Linked DNA regions of Homo sapiens: all the other regions are linked to region 3. Evidence: promoter capture Hi-C in 16 types of primary human blood cells and fetal thymus (Javierre and others, 2016). All regions are on one chromosome and are shown on one strand. Each heading gives the region's core, a stretch centred on a gene start or on the middle of the fragment in contact. The rest is flanking DNA. Distances are from core to core; before and after follow the strand shown.

Region 1 (3,037 bases), core at 377-2,876, 650 kb before region 3:
TGGAGTGGAGGGGAGTAGGAGTGAAAAAGTGGGTCTATATAACACGAAGAAAACAACATTCAAATAGTCGGCCAACCAGTTGTTTGTCCTACCCAAACAGTAAAGGAAACAATTATTCTCACCAAAAAGATTGTTTTGGTAACATGCTGGCACAGACTGCATGTTTATCTTCCTTTTTGGAAAAATCATTTCATATATCATCATAAAAACTGATTATAAGAAAAGCCTCTATCAGAAAAATATTGAGAAATAACATGTAAAAATGACTGCAACGTCTTTTTGTAAATGTGAAGTGTTAAGTAATAACATTATAAGTTTGGCATTGTTGTTCTCTCGCCTGTTAATAATAAAAGGGAAGTCAAGATGCACTTTTGTTCATCTTTATTTCTCAGTACTGCTTTTCTTGCATCTCTCACTCCTGCACGCAGTCTCCCGTTTCATCTTAACTTATTAGAAAGCAGTACAGGAGACATGAATACTAAAATGGCCAATGCATCATGCCTCTTGCACTTTGCAGGCCCTAAATCCTCTGTGCAAAGATTAAACAGAACACTTGCTGGGGTTACCGTGTACTTTTGATAATAGATTTCTTTTATATCAAAGTTTTTATGAAGTCCACATGTGGAGACCCCTTTTATTTCTCCCCATAGGGCAGCATTGGAGAGCTCTCCATTCCATTTTTATTCCCTGTGGACCGATTTCTTTACTGATGGGCAAGGTATTTTCCAGGAGCTGGCATCCTTTTTCCAATGTTTCAAATAAGAGATTCTATTTATTAGATGCTTCTTTGTTGCCTTTTGTGACCAACAACAGAAAAGAGGGACTTTAAAATATAGATTTATCCTTCCATGTACCAATGATGACTTCTTTTTAATAACATTAGAATGAAAATTATGGAGCTAAGTAGAAAGTCGTGTTCCTTCTCTTGATAACTCTAAGTTCCCTTTGTTAAAGATAGAGGAAATGCCTTTTTGTTTCTCTTCCGTTCTGTTGATTTACAACTCTTTTCTCTTTGTAGTGGAAGGATTTGGGAATTTTCTAGTGTTCAGTCATGGAAAATAAAGGAAACTGTTGGGTGGTGGTTTCCTAGGTTGTCTCCTCTGACCCACGGATGACATTTAACTTGATCCCATCCAGATAGGAGGGGTCCTGTGTCTGGTTGTTATTTATTTCTTTAAGAGGAGTCACAAAGATCAGAAAGCTGGTGGATTCTTCACACTTTTGAAAAACTATACTTTCTATAAATGGTGACGGAATAGTCATGAGCAAACAAAGCTTGTATAAGACATTGAACTTCAGTTCCAAATGATAAATATAGGTTTGATCATATTCAATAGCCAAGCAATGCAGAATGGTTTAGTTGTTGATTATTCAGGGAATAATTAATAAACCTGCATGTTGATACATTCAAATGGACTTCTTTCCTTGGCCCTTCTGTTTCTTGATTTCAGTTCATTTCTGTTCCCTAAGGATATAAAGGGAGGAAAGTAAAATTAGTCAAAACCTAATAATCATTTATCATTATTTGTTTTGAAGAAAATAAAATGTAAGTTAAATTAAGGGCTTTGTACCTGTGGGTTTCCTTTATTCATATTACCTTTATTACCAAGAACTAAAACCCACAAACCATTTAATTTAATGTTATTTCTAGACAGGTAGGTAGGGTTCATAGATAGTGTGTTTCTCATTGCAGGAGAACTTCAGAAAACAATGAGGTACTTTTGAACGACTCTGAAAATGCCTAGGAAGAATTTAGACTTATTTATAGACCTCATTCCTTTATGTAATAAGCAATTATTGAATACCCACTCTGTGTTGGATGGTAGGATAGAACATGCATAAGATAATCTCTCCTCTCAATAACCTAAGGAAGTAATTATAATACAGGGTGCTAAGAGATACATACAGAAATTCTAGGGTGCTATGGGAACACAAAAATGAGCCCCTAAAGTTAACATGAGAGGTTAGGAAAGCTTTCCTAGAAGTGACCATCTGTAACTCTGAAAAAATGGGTAGGAATTACCTAGGCAAAAGGTAGATGGAAAAGTATTTTAGTAAGACCACCCAGTATTGAGAATGCCAAAAGACAAGAGGGAGTATAGTGTCTTTTGGCAACTGAAATAAATTTGTGTATCTATAGGAAAATCTGAAGTTGGACTAGTAAGCAATGGGGCTGCAGAATTAACCAAGAACCATATCACATGGAGACTATTTCAAGGAATTATCAAGACAGGTTCAAGAATTAAGAATTGCAAGTAGGGATACCCCTCTATTTTTTGTTTTCAGGGTTACTGAAAAAAACAGGGATCTAAATATTATATACAATATCATAGCAGTTGATCTCTCTTAGCTTGGAATTTTTTGTTTCAGAGCATGGAGCAATCGTTTCCATGGCTTTGGACAAAGAAGGAGAGACAATTGTGTTTGGACTTTTTAAATATGTTAGCATCTAATTTTACCTTCAATGAGCTCAATTCTAATTTGAGATACATGGCTGCACATTGCTATATATCTTGAATTATTTGCTACTGTGTATTCATGCACCAGTGCATTAGTGGATTTTTCATAGATTTTTAAGAAAATATGTGTGGTGGTCACTCCAAATACTGTATTTCAAGGAAGCTGGGTACCTAGAAAAACTGGTTGACCTTCTTTGGCCATCTCTCATTTATTTCTGGCTTATACCTCTCTTGAATATAGCAATTGTTTTTTCTCCAGAGAACAGCATGTGTACAAATAATTCTGATACCTTCTTTAGACATAAGCTGTGGTATGTGCTACTGAATCTGAAATGAAGGAGGTATGAGTCATGCGGGCTGTTTAAATTTGCTGTGTGTCATTCCTGGGCAAATTACAGACTAAGTCTGGCAAATCATTGAATGTAAGTACTGAAAGAATAAATGATCTCAATGCCCAACCCTCTCATTTTACACACTCATTTCATTCATTTAACAAATATAATTGGTATCTTCTATGTAACAGAGATTGTGCTAAGCACAGAGGATACCACGCTGAGCCAAAACAAATATCACCATGT
Region 2 (2,904 bases), core at 114-2,613, 670 kb before region 3:
TGGTCTACAGCACTTAATTATTAGTTCTGAATTAAGGGGCTAAATAATAAGTTGCTGAGATTTGGCACTATAATATTGACTTACTAAAAATAGAATGAGCCAATGCACTTTAAATAAAGAAAAGAAAGAAAAATAAGAAATTTCTGTTTAACTATGAAAAAAAAAAAAAAACCTTGAAGCTTGAATTTGAACCAAAAGTTGGTTTCCCTGGATTTCTGTGCACTGAAGTACTAAAGGGGTGTCAGATTTGTTTTTGTGACAGTAAAACACTATTCATGTTGGGGATACTTTCAGGTGATTAAATAACCAGGTAGAAGTTGGAATTATAAAAATACCTGTATATTTTAATAACAAAATAAGACCTCTCTAACTGAAAATTTATTCTGTTTATATTTTGTTTCAAGAAAATCAATTTAACAATTGTTAGATCATAAATGTTTGTCTTCTCTCATTCACTTAGAATTCAGAAAACATGTTCATTTTCCATGTCCTTTCCATTGATTTCCAAGATAATTCACAATACAGGCATTACTAATGATGATTTCTTTAAATTAAAACAAAAAAACACTATTTTGATATGGGTAGGAGGATCACTTAACCAGAGAAAGGCTATCTGTTGTAGTACAGATGATACAATGAGTGTGTTCATTTTACTGTAAATAGCAGAGAGGTTTATCTCTTCACAAATAATATTAATGCAAATAGGATTAGAACTATTTGCAACACTAGAAGTAAAGCAGAAAGGTATTATGGAATGCCTACCGTAAAAAGAGAAAATAAATTATAGGGTAATGAGAAAAAGAAGAAAAAACAAGAAGTAAGAAAAATGCAAGGAAATAAGGGGTATCAAACAAGTTATTAAGAATGTGAACTATCTGAAAAAGGAAGAAAAAGAAGATGGGCAAGAAATTTCTAAAGACTGGAAATTAGGTGTTCAACATTTACAAATCAAGATAAGAACAAATCAAGAAACACTTAAATCATGGCATACCCAACCTTATATAATTTAGAGTTATAGACAGAATTTCATTAAAAAGAAAAAAAAAGTCAGTCCTCAAAAGAAAGAAAATATTTTCACAAGAAAAAAATGTCAATCATGGTACCTTACCGCCTATAATACCATTCGGTTCAATAACTATGTATATGTAATCTGAGTTAATAAGATTTTTTGTTGTTTTTTTTTTAAATCCATTGTTGTGCTAGGTAATGCAGTAGTTTCAGAAGTCTCGGAGTTCAAAGGGGACAACCCATTCTGTGAATATAAGGAGATAAACATATAACTGCATTCATTGCAAAATCATCTTAATTCCCATGTAATTTGACCTGGCAAAAGACCTGAGAAGCAAGGAGAACTTCAGGACCTCTGACAGCTTTCTAAATGCAGGCCCATGACTGTGTCACACTGATAGTGGAAACTTGGAGTGATGCATTGCAATTTACTACTAATCAGAAGTTGTGCTATGGAATAACCCCCACATTTGTATTGAACGTATATGGTACATCAAGCTCTGAGCTAAGTTCTGAGATACAGAGTTGAACAAGACAGCCACATTTCTGACTGCATGCAATTTACAGTAAAAAGAGAAAGAGTAAATAGTAACACAAAATAATCACACTGGCAATACATAACCTACAAGAGAAAAGTGGCATGGGCTGGGACACCCTATAACAGACAGCTGTAACCTTATCCGAGTGACTGGAGAAGACTTTCTCTGCAACAAAGGTATAAGATGAGCCTTGAAAGATGAGCCATTCTAAGTAATAGGCCTGGGGAGAAGGCAAAATATGCAATTGGAGAGGCAAAGCTGAGAGAAGACCACCTGCAAAACTCCTGGGCAGAAAAGAGCTTGGCACCTTCCAGGAACTTAAAAAAAAAAAAAAAAAAAGGATGTGTGGCTACATTTGTGGCAAGAGGGGTTGTCCAAATCATACAGGAAGTTGTAGGCCCTGCTAAGGATTATTTACTGCATAGATACATTTTAAAATGGAAAAATCAGCATGTTTTTCAGTTGAACTGAAAAAAGAAGTAATACTATTGTGGAAACACTGCTGCCTTTGAAATCATAAACCTAAATGAGTGGCCTGGCTCCACGTTAGCCGAGTCCTGCAGCAGTAAAATGGGTTAATAATTATAGTTCTAAATACTTAGCAGCATTTGTAGAAAGATCAGCTGAGATTGTAGAAAAACTAAACATAAAATGCTGTTTTAAGTTTGTATATTATTAATTTTAAAAGACATATTTAGCAAAATTTACCTGAATGCACTTTTGCCTATCAAAAAATCACTAGGACATATTCATGATATCACTGATAGCACAGAAATAGTCAGAGACTGTTAACACCAGAGGAATGAAGTTGGAGGGAACCAAAGGTGAAACCAAGGGCATCAGAAGGAAGTGGGAACATTAGAATTTTCGACAGCTCTCAGCAATTTATATTTCATTCTTCAAAAGGAAAATGATGGCCGGTTGAGTTATAAATGTCTTTCATTTTTTCCTTTCATAGAAGAGAGTTCCTCTTCTTTTTAATCTCATAAACTTAAGCTTAGAGGCTTTCTTTTCTGCTGCTCCCAAAGCCTTTCACATGCATATGTCTGGCTTCTTTGCTCCCAGAGCGCCTGTGAGGGGTTGGTAAATTGCACCTGCGCGGGGACTCTGAACTTCCTCAGAGCTCAGCTGGGCCACCGTATGGAGACTGGCTCACTGGAGGCTGCAGAGAAGTGAACTGAAGAATTACAGTCGGTTTCACTTCCCTGCCTTATGTGCCTTCAGGTGCCTCTGAAGACAGGCGAGGCCAGTGAAATGGAGAGGAGGAAGAAGAGAGAAAGCAGCAATATCTGAGAAAAGTCCTTGAAAATGTAGAGGCATTGTTGAAAAATATGGAAAGATGGATGTGCATGTTTGT
Region 3 (3,044 bases), core at 215-2,714:
GCCCGCGCGAGCACCGCCGGCCGCTTTTGACACTCGACACCCCAGCCTTCACCCGGGTTGCTAAGAAACAAAAAGGCTCCAAGATCCCTGCAATTCCTCCCGGGCCTGGCGGAGACGACAGGGGCCTCCGGGGCCTGAAGACGCCGCAGGGAACGGCCTGGCCACTGCCCCGGGGGCGCGAAAGCCAGGGAGAGCGGGAGAGCGGGAGAGCGGGAGAGCGGGAGAGCGGGAGCTTGGGCTGAGGGGGCTGGACGCGGGGAGCGGGCCCCGAGGCTGAGGAAAAGGCCGCCCCGGGACTCTGAGGGGCGGGGAACGGGACCTCGCGGGGCAGCGACGCTCGGGCAGGCCGCGGCGGGCTCGGTTCCCGCCAGGCGGCAGCCCGGGGTCCCGGGCCGGAGGCCGGGCCTAAGCGACAACCCGGCTCCGCGAGGGGGAGGGGGCGTCTACTCACACGTGCTGACAGGCCGTGGTCCGCACGGGCGTTTTGAGCACCTCCTGACAGACGGGGCAGTAGAAATCATCTTCGGTGTAGGACGTGGCCGCAGAGAGGTCCTCGGCCATGGCGGGGGATGGGGAAACAAGGCGATGGCGACAGCGGCAGCGGCCGAGGTGACGGTGGCGGCCCGGGGCCCGACTCCCTACATGAACCCGGAGGGGGGAGGGGGATCGCATCAGGATACAGCGCGCGCCAGGAAGGGGGCGGGGCCCTGGGTAGGGCGGGGCCGAACGCAGAGACGCTACTGCCGCACGCGCCGGGCAAGAGGCGACCCCTCCCACGGCTCCTCCCACAGGGGGCTGGATGGGGGACGGTGCTTGGCGGGAGGCTGGGCTCGCAGCATGCCGTGGGCCCGCCCCGCTCGCCCCTCACCCCGCCCCAGGACGCGGCCTCACGCTCTAGGCCACGCCCTCACCGGGCTCCAGGCGCGGGCTCGCGCCCCGCCCTCAGCCCCCGTCTTCGCCCAAGGCCTCCCTTTTCACTGCTTTTCCGCCTCTACTCACCCCGACCCCGAGCCCCGAGTGCCCAGCCCGTGTCCGCGGCTTCCTCCCCGCCCCGCTTCCCGGCACCCCGGCCCCTCCACGCTTCCGCCGGGGAGACTCTCACCTAGGAGCCCCGAAGCGGCGTTGTGGACGGAGCTGCTTTTCCTTCACGTGTTCGTAGAGACCCGGCCCAGCGCTTTCCTCGAGCTTCCTGTCCGGCCGCCGCTATCTTCGCAGCCGAGGCCCCGGGGCAAATGGAGGGCGGCGTGCGCTGTGCTTATCGGCCCCTAACGGGGCCGGAGCCGAGGCTCATGGTGCAGGGAGATTCGCCCGCCGCCGCCAGCAGCTCTGTCTTGGCATTGCGCTGCCTACAGCCTACCCGGCCGTCACCGAACGCGGGAGCGCCGGGGATCTGGGCGGAGGAGCCAGGAGAGGCGGGGAGGCACGGGGTGTGAAGTGCGGCCTGTATAGCAACCGGCGCACGGCGCCTTCCGCGGGTTGTGACGTAAGCAGCTGGGCGCCCGCGGTGACACCTGCGCCTCCCCGCCCCGCCTCGCTAGGCCCGGGACCCCAGTTACCTCTCCTGTCAAATACATTGGGCCTTTCAGGAAGTTTTCGTCAATGTTCAAGATTTAGTCTTTACTATTTGCCCTACCAGAATGTTTTGATCTTGTCAAGATGTGTTATAAACAAATATTTGTTACGGGATTTTAATCCTTTGGGGGCAGGATTAAAGTTTCCTTGAGAGGATGTCCACTTTCTCCTTTAACAGCATGACCGATGCTTAAATACGGTCGCAGATGCAGTCTTCTACTACACCTTTGGGTTGATTTTTGATTTTTTCTTTTTTTTTTTAGCTTTGAAGAGAAATGCCGTAGAAGCATGGACGTGGCTTTTCACCAAGGTTATTCACTAATTTAAGTGTTTTTTTTAATTTTATTTTATTTTATTTTATTTTTTGAGACAGGTACTCACTCTGTCTCCCAGGCCGGAGTGCAATTATCTGTACAATTGATAATCTATAAGATGGTCCAACCTGCGTAACAGAGTGAGATTCCGTCTCAAAAAAAAAAAAAAAAAAGAAAGAAAAAAGGCCGGGCGCGGTGGCTCACACCTGTAATCCCAGCCCTTTGGTAAGCGAAGGCGGTTGGATCACTTGAGGTCAGGAGTTCAAGACCAGCCTGGCCAACGTGATGAAATCCCATCTCTACTAAAAATACAAAAATTAACCGGACATGGTGGTGGGAGCCTGTAATCCCAGGTACTCGGGAGGCTGAGGCACGAGAATCGCTTGTACCCGGGAGGCAGAGGTTGCAGTGAGCCGCGATCGCGCCGCTGCACTCCAGCCCTGGCGACAGAGTGAGACTCTCAAAAAAAAAGAAGAACAAAAAAAGGATAAATCGATAAGATGGGATCCACAATGACGTGAAAGAAGCTAAGGAAAATCTGGAACATTATACAGCATCTACAATTAGCTTCAGAGAAAAGAAAGGTTTTATTACCATCCTTTGTTAAAACCCTCCCCCATGGTCTAAATGAATAAACAGAAGCCATTTAAGGGACTATTTAAATCAATTCTGCCATTTATTGTCTATGTTGACATTGGCATTGTTAGGTGTTATGCAGATGTCATGAACTTTGCTCTCAACCTGTTTACATTATTACATATCTATCAGAATGAGAGAGAAAAAATGGTATTTGCCAAAGTATTAAATTTTGCATTAAACGATGGCTATAATGAGGATAGGAAATGGAATGATTAGAAATATATAGAGTTAACAGAAAACTTTATGGAGGAAATGGGTTTTAATGTACATCTCAAAAGCATTGATTCCTAGAATAATAATAATTTGTCCAATGAATAGCTAATTCCCTCTACCAAACTATATTTTGTATTTTTGTTGCTTTTCCTCCTTAGCAGCAAGCGCAGTGGAAGCAAGACAAGAAAGCTAATACTAGCTTCAGATTTCCTGGAAGGAGGAAGAGCACGTGACGAGAGGGGCAGCTAATAGCAGTAGTTCAGGTGCTTTTCACATTCACTTATAAAATGGTTCTTTGAGTTCAAA
Region 4 (2,901 bases), core at 37-2,536, 580 kb after region 3:
AAGTAGAGAATCTTGAAGTGTTCAGTGGTTTTATGGTGAGGTGATCCCTTAAACTTTAATAGATCAGACTAAGAGATACCTTATTAAAAATGGATGTAGAGAAATACAAATTAGTTTAAAACATTATTTCAACTTTCAGTCACTATAATGGCTTCTAATGTCCATTCAGCGAGAAATTACTAGAAGGTAAGCAGTGTGCTCAACGGACTATCTTTAGAACTCAAACACAGAGGACGTGGCACTTGCCAGTGGTTCTTTAAATTCATGCCCACCTCAGGCCCATCATCTAACATCTGTGTTATTTTCTTTCCTTGGTTACTCAACCTTCCAACCAGCAGAATGTTTTATAATTCTTTTGTTTCTCCCTTTTATTGTATAGAAGGTCAAATCAAAAACTGCCCAGAGGATCCCTGGTTTATCCCCAATCCATTCTTAAAGAGCTTTCAACTTTGGCTGAAATAATCTGAAAGAAATAAAATGAGATAAAATAAAGGGAGTGGATGCCACTTGTTTATTTCCTCTGGTCACACATCCTGACTTTTCTATTTGTATTGGCAGAGCTGGTGGTCTGGTCTGTAGTAGCGTCCATAGCCACAAAGAAGGCTCTGTAGTCTACAGTCATAGAAATGTACATGTTCAGAAGAGTTCAAGTGACCCAGTGCAGTCAGGGTGGACCAGTGAGTTTGGTGATCTGCTCTGATAAATCTGACGTGGGTCAGATTTATGTTGGAATTCACCTACTGCACTTTTCTCTTCTTAATCTTATTTTGGGGACAGGAGGAAGAAAAGACAGTTTTTATAACATTTATTTTACGGCTAACCAGCATAACTTATTTAGAAAATTCCAACTTAAAAGTCCAACTTACAGATGATCTAGACATTTATATACTCCTATAGCAGTCTCACTCAACAGCTGATTTAAATATGTAATTATATTTTTCACAATTGCTAATTTAAAAAAAAAGAGCAATATTTTGAACTTTTAATTTTTGAACTCTGAATTTGAACTTTAGATAATAATAAATATTTTAAGTCTGACAGTAATAAAGTACATGACTTACCAAAATCTTTCACCTGTTCTTCGGATGTTTGGGCTAATCTGAATGTAACAAATATGATTTTAGGTGAGTCATATTGAAGTTAGTTACAAAGAGGAAGACAGTTTCTTTGAAAGCTTTTTATTAACTCATAGAATTTTAAAATATGCATTTAGCAATGCTTTGCTACACTTGACTTGTTCATTCATGCTGTGAATTCTTATTTCAAGTAAAGTTTTGTATATTCATGGACAGTTCCTATTTTTTCCCTTGACATAGGGCTTTTTAATATTTAATCTTCTTTTCTACTCCAGTTATTTTTATTTTCTAATTGGGATGTTAACAGTGGTTTTCAAGCTTGAGTGGCATTAGAATCACCTTGATAAAACACAGATTACTGAGTCCCGCCTTAGAGTGTCTGACTCAGTAGGTCTGGATGGGGTCCAAGAATTTGTATCTAACAAGTTTCCTGGGGATGCTGATGCTGCTTGGCCCCAAAAGTGGGACCACACTTTTGGAAACCACTGTGTAAAATCACATGGTAGCATAGGAAAGGGAAGAAGAGGAGAGCCTGGATAATTCATAAACTGGATAATGAGCCCCTAGTTACAGACAGATGTGTGAAAAGATGTGTTCTAAATCAGGCAATTCAGGCCGGGCTCAGTGGCTCACGCCTGTAAGCTCACACCTGTAATCCCAGCACTTTGGGAGGCAGAGGTAGGCAGATCACCTGTGGTCAGGAGTTCAAGACTAACCTGGCCAACATGGTGAAACTCCATCTCTACTAAAAATACAAAAATTAGCCAGGTGTGGTGGTGCATGCCTGTAATCCCAGCTACTAGGGAGGCTGAGGCACAAGAATCACTTGAACCCAGGAGGCGGAGGTTGCAGTGAGCCGAGATGGCGCCACTGCACTCCAGCCTGGGTGACGGAATGAGACTCTATCTCAAGAATAAATAAAATAAAATAAAATAAAATAAAATAAAATAAAATAAAATAAAATAAATCAGGCAGTTCAGTAACTGTGAATTCTCCCCATCACAAAAAGATTTTTCATTTTACAAGTATTCATCAACTACAATTGAACTGTAGGAAAACACTTTAGGTAGTGTTTTCCCCTGGTTTATACCTCTTCTTCTAGTTTAACTTTTACTGGTCCTAAGCATTTGTCACTCAAAAAATACCATTTTATGGTGTTGGGAAAACTGGCTAGCCACATGCAGAAAACTGAAACTGGACCCCTTCCTTACACTTTATACAAAAATTAACTCATGATGGATTAAAGACTTAAATGTAAGACCTAAAACCATAAAAATCCTAGAAGAAAACCTAGGCAATACCATTCAGGATATAGGCATTGGCAAAGACTTCATGACTAAAACACCTAAAGCAATGGCAACAAAAGCCAAAATTGACAAATGGGATCTAATTAAACTAAAGAGCTTCTGCACAGCAAAAGAAACCATCATCAGAGTGAACAGGCAACCTACAGAATGGGAGAAAATTTTTGCAATCTATCCATCTGACAAAGGGCTAATATCCAGAATCTACAAGGAACTTAAACAAATTTACAAGAAAAAAACACTCAGCCCTATCAAAAGGTGGGTGAAGGATATGAACAGACACTTCTCAAAAGAAGACATTTATGCAGCCAACAAACATGAAAAAAAGCTCATCATCACTGGTCATTAGGGGAATGCAAATCAAAACCACAATGAGATACCATCTCACACCAGTTAGAATGGCGATCATTAAAAAGCCAGGAAACAACAGATGCTGGAGAGGATATGGAGAAATAGGAATGCTTTTACACTGTTGGTGGGACTGTAAATTAGTTCAACCATTGTGGAAGACAGTGTGGCGA
Region 5 (2,982 bases), core at 195-2,694, 710 kb before region 3:
AAGACATTTAGTATGCTGACTACTTGTCAACAGACCATAACATCAGTCATGAGTCAAAAGAGGAAGGTGAGCAGGAAGGGGGACAGATATCAAGGAGCCACTTGAATGATAAAGTATTTTCAAAAACACAATTATCTATGTCTGGCTTATCTATTCTACTAAATTATAATTCCTTAAAAGCAAAGACTTGAATTTTTTCCATTTTAGATTCCACGCAATGTCCGTATGGTGCCTGGTACTAGCTAGGCACCATATTATTGAATTAATGAATATAGCAATTGATTAGTGTTTAATGAATTGGCTACAGCCAATTGTTGTTCAGGCATATTTACAAAAAAAAATCTTTCAAGGTTTTTCTGGACAGATTAAAGTGAATTACAACTCAAGGGAAAAGTAAAAGAAAACAAAACACTCCACTCTCTAACATATATTTGAGAACAAATGGAAAATAACACTGGGACTTTGAAAATGAGGAGCATGGCCCTGAGGATTTCAAAATGGACTGCCTTCCTTCTGCTGGAACAACGGCACCACACAACTGAACAAACAGCCAAGGGGCCATGTTCTATCCTGCAGCCCCCACATGTTTGCATTAGTGAGGTAAGCAGCTCAAAGGGGAACTTAAAAGAAGACTTGTATTGTTCATGGAGCCTTTCAAGCGTAGTAAGGGTGGAATTCCATCTGTTCAGTTCAGTTTGGTTCACTGAGCTGGTTCACTCGTAATGGTTCACTGAGTTGTGACACCTAGTAGAAATTACAACCAATGTTTTTAAAAACCTTTATGTTATCATTTGTGAAACTGTGTGGCTTGATCACTTTAAAGTTTTCATCTCCTTGTGTTTTTGATCTGTTTCCAGGATACCTCTTTCCTGGTCTTTAAAAAAAAAAAAAGTGAAAAACTAGCACTGAAAATACCACTAAAAAGAGGAATATATTTGTTGAGCTCTGTTTTGCATACTGGCTTAATTTGTGCACGATTTCAGACAAACACAGAAGTTACAAAGCTTTCACTCCGGGTTTGCATTCACCTTGTCTCCCAACCATGAGCTCTTTATGCACAGAAAGAGCCATGAATGGCTAACACTCTTTGCAGCAGCTTAGCAGATACTCTGCCTTGAGGAACAGGTAGAATTCCACACTACTCGCTTGAATGACTCACTGAACAATACCAAGTTATTAAGTTTTTCAGGACCAAGATGGTGATGGGGGAGGGCACTCCATTTGACATCTGCCCAGTGGCATCTTACAAAAAGTCTCTGTGCTTGCACGGAACTTTGCAGGAGGCCAAGTACCGATCAGCAATGATTATGATCTCAGCCAGATAATCATTTTCACTTACCTGGAGGAGAAGAAACAAAGTGGTAAAATGTGACAATGATGTAAAGTGATGGATGGTTATTTGCAGTGCATTTTGCAAACAGCACATTGGGTATGATGAAGGAGGACCTTTGTATGAAGTTCAACAAATAACAAAAGACATTCCCACTATACTTTGAGTAACCTGCCTCAAAGGTGCCAGATCTATTTCTCACAGGGTGAAGGAAGCGTGCAACCTATTCAGAGAAAAAAAAAAAACAGAGAGAGGAATGCTTAAGAAGGTTTTCCACTGCATGCACTGGAGATCTGAAAAGAATGAAAGTAAATCTGTAAAGCAGAAATCTAAGGAAGAAGGAAATGCAGAAAGGCCGACCACATCAGGCACCTAGTCCAGTTGGTTATGCCATAATCATTGATACCATGGTATTTTTGTCTCATCTCGTATCATGTGCTTCAATTCACTCCAAAAAGTAGCTCCAGCATTTTCCTCTGACCATTGCTCAGTAATGAAGGAGTATGTAATGCAAACGCACGGACAATCTCTGGGTCTTAACAGTAAGAAGCTTCCTGTTGGAAATCTCATTGGGTTAGGTAAAAGGATCTTGATTTATTTGCCAATGAAGGATAGAAAACAATTCAAAATTATTTAAGTGATACTTTTGCCACTGCTTACTTCCTGTACATCTCTGGAATTATGATATTTATTCATCAGCTCAATTTACCATACTATCATCCTGAGACCGTTCCTTTGAACTGTGTCCTTGCCTTTCTTCAACATCCCTCCAGGTATCGTATCATCACGGCCACATCAAAGCAGGTAGGGTAACAAATGTTCACTGAATTAAAAAAAAAATCTGATGTGTGCTTTACTTTTCTAAGTTCTACTTGTATTGCAGGTGAAATTCCTTCCTCTGGATTTTTTGGCTGTTGCTTGTCGAATGTTTTCGTCCTGGCTGTGTCCATTTGCATTTGTCTCAGACTCTAACTCTCTTAACTATCCTCATCTTCCATCACAGTGACTGCATAGCTCATCTTCAACATTTAGTAAGATAGGTGAACAGTGTCATCACTATTAATATTGAGAGCATTTGATAGTCTTGGTCTTAATCCCTTTTAGCATATTTTCTCCTTTACTAATCTTTCTTTCTAAAGCTTCTCATTTTCAAGAGGTAAACTCTATTGATCAAATTAGTTCTTATCAGCTGAAAACTAGGTGACCTGTGAAGCAACTAGTAGATTAACTCTATCCTTTTTACTTTTCTTCTTTTAAAAGAAAAAAAAGTTATGAAATGCTTTGCATGTGAATTACACCAAGAAAGAGTAAGCACCAGAAAAAAATACTGTAATAACACCTGAATTTTTATTAAAATCTATAATAGGAGGAAATGTTTCTTTCCAGTAATGAATATAAAAATAAAAAAATAAAAACAACCTATATACTAAGAATAATAATAGTTACATGCTTCTGAGGACTCTCTGGAAAGTGTAGATTAGATATTTATGTGTCTGTGGGTTAAATCTTTGTTTGACTATTTCAGAAGCTAACCTGGGTGGCATGTAGAAAATCACAGCATGATTAAAGATTGCTGGCATGCTTTACAAAAAGAGAAGAAAAAAAAAAAGAGGAAGGTCAAGCCTCACTAACTTCTTGGAATTTCTAGAAGA
Region 6 (3,072 bases), core at 393-2,892, 600 kb after region 3:
TGTGGTGGAAAATGGCATGCTTTCGCTTTCAGATCCTGTTCGTGACGCCAAAAATGTTCTGTGTGGGAGACCTGTGAGGGGAGAAGCCACGCACAGTACTTTTAGGAGTAAACAACCTTTATCCCACGTAAATGGCAATGCAGATATAATAAACAAATGATACAATAAGTCAATGATATAATAAGAAAATTGATATAATAAGCAAATTGCAATGGGAAGGGGAGAAGGGAAAAGATATATATGTATATGTGTGTATATGTGTGTGTATATATATATATATATACACACACACACACACACACACACACACACACACATATACACACTCCTCAGACTATGGAGGATTCATCACCAGGCTGAGAAGCAACAGCCTGGGCTCCAGAGTCGGCCACTCATCTGTACACAGACAAGAAGATGTCTCTTGAAGCTTCGTTGCAGTCTGGGACCCTAGCTCTTTTTGTAACCAGTTGTTCGGCATGAGGCCCAGTCACGAGGGCCCTTCGAGACTGGGCTCAGATAACACAAAAGGTCAACTTGTTTTTGCGACTGTCTGTTGTTTTTCAATAACTAACGTATAGGTGTAGATTGAAATAGAGATTTCTTCGAAACAGTGCTGGATGAATTCCTCAAGGGGCTCACATGACCTGTTCTGGGACTTGGTGACCGTTGTTTGTGTCCATGTTCAATTGAGTTCAAATGTAATATCTAACTTTTTTTCCACACCTATATAAGCATAAAGGGTTATTTGGAGACTAGAAAGAGAGGTTTGGTATTAAATTTGGCTCAAATAGTAGAGTTCCTTCTGTGGTCCAAAATGCCCCCTCTCCCTCTGGTAGCATCTCTCACCCTTCTCTCCCAAGTGCCAATCTTCAAGATCCAGTACAGTCACCACCTCCTCATTACACTCTTTCTTCTCAGTTCCCCAAGGACCACTGCCTATTTGAGCTGAGAGAAGCACATTCTCCATATGTTTGGGGCTTAGCTGCTGAGTGGATTTTCTCATGCAGTTACTTAAGTGACGGTGGCTGAATTAGTTGAGGACTTAGCTCATTAATGTGCTCAGAAGTGCCCCAAACTGTGCTCTGTACTATGGGATACTCTCAGTAAACTTTTTTACATCATTGAATCTGGAGGAAATATGTCTTAATTTCCACTCCTTTCTCTTGAGCTAGATGTGGGTATTAGCACACCTTGGGGATACTTCTCGTTTGCCATCATGCTGGGAGCACTCCTGATTTAAGAAGTGAGGCTTTACCAAATCACTTGCAGAAATCATTGTAGGAAACTATGTGTCAGTCCTGCCTTAAATTTGTGCCCTTGCAATTGAGTCCTATAGAGAAGTATTTATGCCTCATTATTAAGTCTTTGGTTTCTATTCAGCAATGAAGATAATCATAGCTTCCAGAATGAGAAATAGCCAATGCAAACTTTATTTCTGTTGTATTATTCAACCTCCCCTGAAGGCTATCAAAGTTAGTTTCAAGGTAGTATTCCTTCTATAAGACATTTTCCCCAGGACTTTGAGAGAAGGTGCCAATATGTCATCCAGTGCCATAGCATGTCACTCCTGAATTAGTTCTACTTTAAAAATTCTAAAACTTATGACTCAGAGAGGTGAAGGAACTTCTTGAGAATCAGATGTTTCACAGCTAACTCTCTGGCTCCTAACTTCTTTATGCTGGGGTTAGAGTAAATCTGTTTCATACATCTCTGTGCACAAAAATAAATGTAGCCATTACCAACAAAGGACTAAGGATTTGTTTAAAATAAATTGAAGTCTTAACAGGATGTGAAAATTTTAACTTTCATGTTTTCCTCCCCCAAGTTAGTTGAACATTACGGTAAATGTACTTTTCTTAAGACATTTAGAATGGATTAGTTCAAAACATATTTTGTGTGGATAATAATTACCTTTAACATCTAGATATATTCAAAATATCTACCTGAATTTATGTTTTCCAGAATACTTTGCTTCACACACATACACAGATAAGAATAATCTTCAAGTGATTAGCTCATTAAAATCACCCCTTTAATATGATCTAAAACCAAAAATACTTTAAAGGGTTTCAGAAAGATCAATGAAAATTAATATATCTCTTTTCTACTAACACTGCTCCTTACTGCCAACACATCCTAGCATTAAATATTATTTTAAAAATGGACAGTTCTTTGCTAAAGGTCTGATAAGTGGCTGACCACTTAATTCCAGTGAAAATCTCATGAGTATATGTATTAGAATTAATGTTTCACAGGTGAGAGCTAAATCTGGTTGCTATCCTTTTAAAATGCTTTATAAACAAATCATAGAGTTGTGTAGCTGTTATAAAAAAAGGTTATCATGGTCAGGAGGATTACTCATAGAATGTTGATTAGCAAAGGGCATATGGACACAGGACAAAATGTGAAATACTCCCAGGTAATCTGAGAAGGGAAATATGAGGAGGAATCTGTTTTTTGGTTTAGTTCTACTAGTTTATTCAATATTTACCTTGTCCCTGTTCAACAAACATTTAATTTTCATTTTACTAGAAATGCAAAATTAAATGTTTTCCTGTATCGAAAGAAACAAGAATAGGTGCTTATAAAATAATATAACTATAATTACTTATAAAATAAAATAATATAACCACTGTGGTAGAACTACACATGCAGTATATGAACAATGAAGGTTTCCCACCTCACACTTTGGACTATGGGGTTAGAAAAGGCTTCTTGGAGGAAGTTTGCTGAAGTGATTCTTAAAGGATGAGTAATTGTGAACCAGGTGTTGAACCTGCCAGGGCAGAGTGACTCAAAGCATAGACACTGTTGATGAAGAGTCAGGGGCTTTCGCTTTAGCTGTGAAAAAAGCTTTCTTTTCATCATGTTGACACAAACAGGGAATCAGAAGTAAAAACTTTCCTTTTGGTAAAAACATGTTGAATTTGAGACATTAGAACAAAATCCAATTAGAAAAGCCTAGCAAGTCATTTGAAATGAGAAAGGACAACTGCATTGCAAATAGATTTGGGCAGCAGAAATAGTCACCTTATTTTGTTCCCATCTCACTGGCTGTTCTTTCTCAATCCC

Evidence for each region. The method cuts DNA at HindIII sites, captures the fragments that hold promoters and counts their contacts. A CHiCAGO score of 5 or more calls a contact.
Region 1: a fragment that was not itself captured here is called in contact with the fragment with the promoter of RNF138 in region 3 in 1 of 17 cell types (naive B cells); the score reaches 5.1 in naive B cells.
Region 2: a contact is called between a fragment that was not itself captured here and the fragment with the promoter of RNF138 in region 3, in 2 of 17 cell types (total B cells and naive B cells). The highest score is 6.8, in total B cells.
Region 4: a fragment that was not itself captured here is called in contact with the fragment with the promoter of RNF138 in region 3 in 1 of 17 cell types (fetal thymus); the score reaches 6.8 in fetal thymus.
Region 5: a fragment that was not itself captured here is called in contact with the fragment with the promoter of RNF138 in region 3 in 1 of 17 cell types (total B cells); the score reaches 8.1 in total B cells.
Region 6: a fragment that was not itself captured here is called in contact with the fragment with the promoter of RNF138 in region 3 in 1 of 17 cell types (fetal thymus); the score reaches 5.3 in fetal thymus.

Annotation. Positions count from the first base shown.
Region 1 is chr18:32,735,779-32,738,815 of GRCh38, reverse strand. All of the region lies in intron 3 of KLHL14 (kelch like family member 14), which reads left to right. LOC112268208 (a long non-coding RNA gene) reads right to left here. Exons shown (of 3, transcript XR_002958196.2): 3 at 365-1,465. Among named protein-coding and RNA genes, the nearest start is that of KLHL14, 36 kb to the left of the region's middle. The HindIII fragment of the contact is 698 bases long and covers 1,278-1,975 here.
Region 2 is chr18:32,760,376-32,763,279 of GRCh38, reverse strand. All of the region lies in intron 2 of KLHL14 (kelch like family member 14), which reads left to right. Among named protein-coding and RNA genes, the nearest start is that of KLHL14, 11 kb to the left of the region's middle. The HindIII fragment of the contact is 2,364 bases long and covers 182-2,545 here.
Region 3 is chr18:32,090,294-32,093,337 of GRCh38, reverse strand. RNF138 (ring finger protein 138) reads right to left here and starts at 1,464. Exons shown (of 8, transcript NM_016271.5): 1 at 1,103-1,464; 2 at 452-638. The coding sequence starts at 561. LOC124904278 (a long non-coding RNA gene) reads left to right here and starts at 1,393. Exons shown (of 2, transcript XR_007066327.1): 1 at 1,393-1,483; 2 at 1,836-2,063. It also overlaps a transcript of RNF125 not described here. RefSeq lists a silencer at 626-1,045 and an enhancer at 1,716-1,765. The HindIII fragment of the contact is 10,157 bases long and covers 1-3,044 here.
Region 4 is chr18:31,507,496-31,510,396 of GRCh38, reverse strand. All of the region lies in intron 1 of DSG2 (desmoglein 2), which reads right to left. Among named protein-coding and RNA genes, the nearest start is that of DSG2, 11 kb to the right of the region's middle. The HindIII fragment of the contact is 220 bases long and covers 1,177-1,396 here.
Region 5 is chr18:32,801,395-32,804,376 of GRCh38, reverse strand. No RefSeq gene overlaps it. Among named protein-coding and RNA genes, the nearest start is that of KLHL14, 30 kb to the right of the region's middle. The HindIII fragment of the contact is 876 bases long and covers 1,007-1,882 here.
Region 6 is chr18:31,490,310-31,493,381 of GRCh38, reverse strand. No RefSeq gene overlaps it. Among named protein-coding and RNA genes, the nearest start is that of DSG2, 6.3 kb to the left of the region's middle. RefSeq lists an enhancer at 3,039-3,072. The HindIII fragment of the contact is 2,426 bases long and covers 430-2,855 here.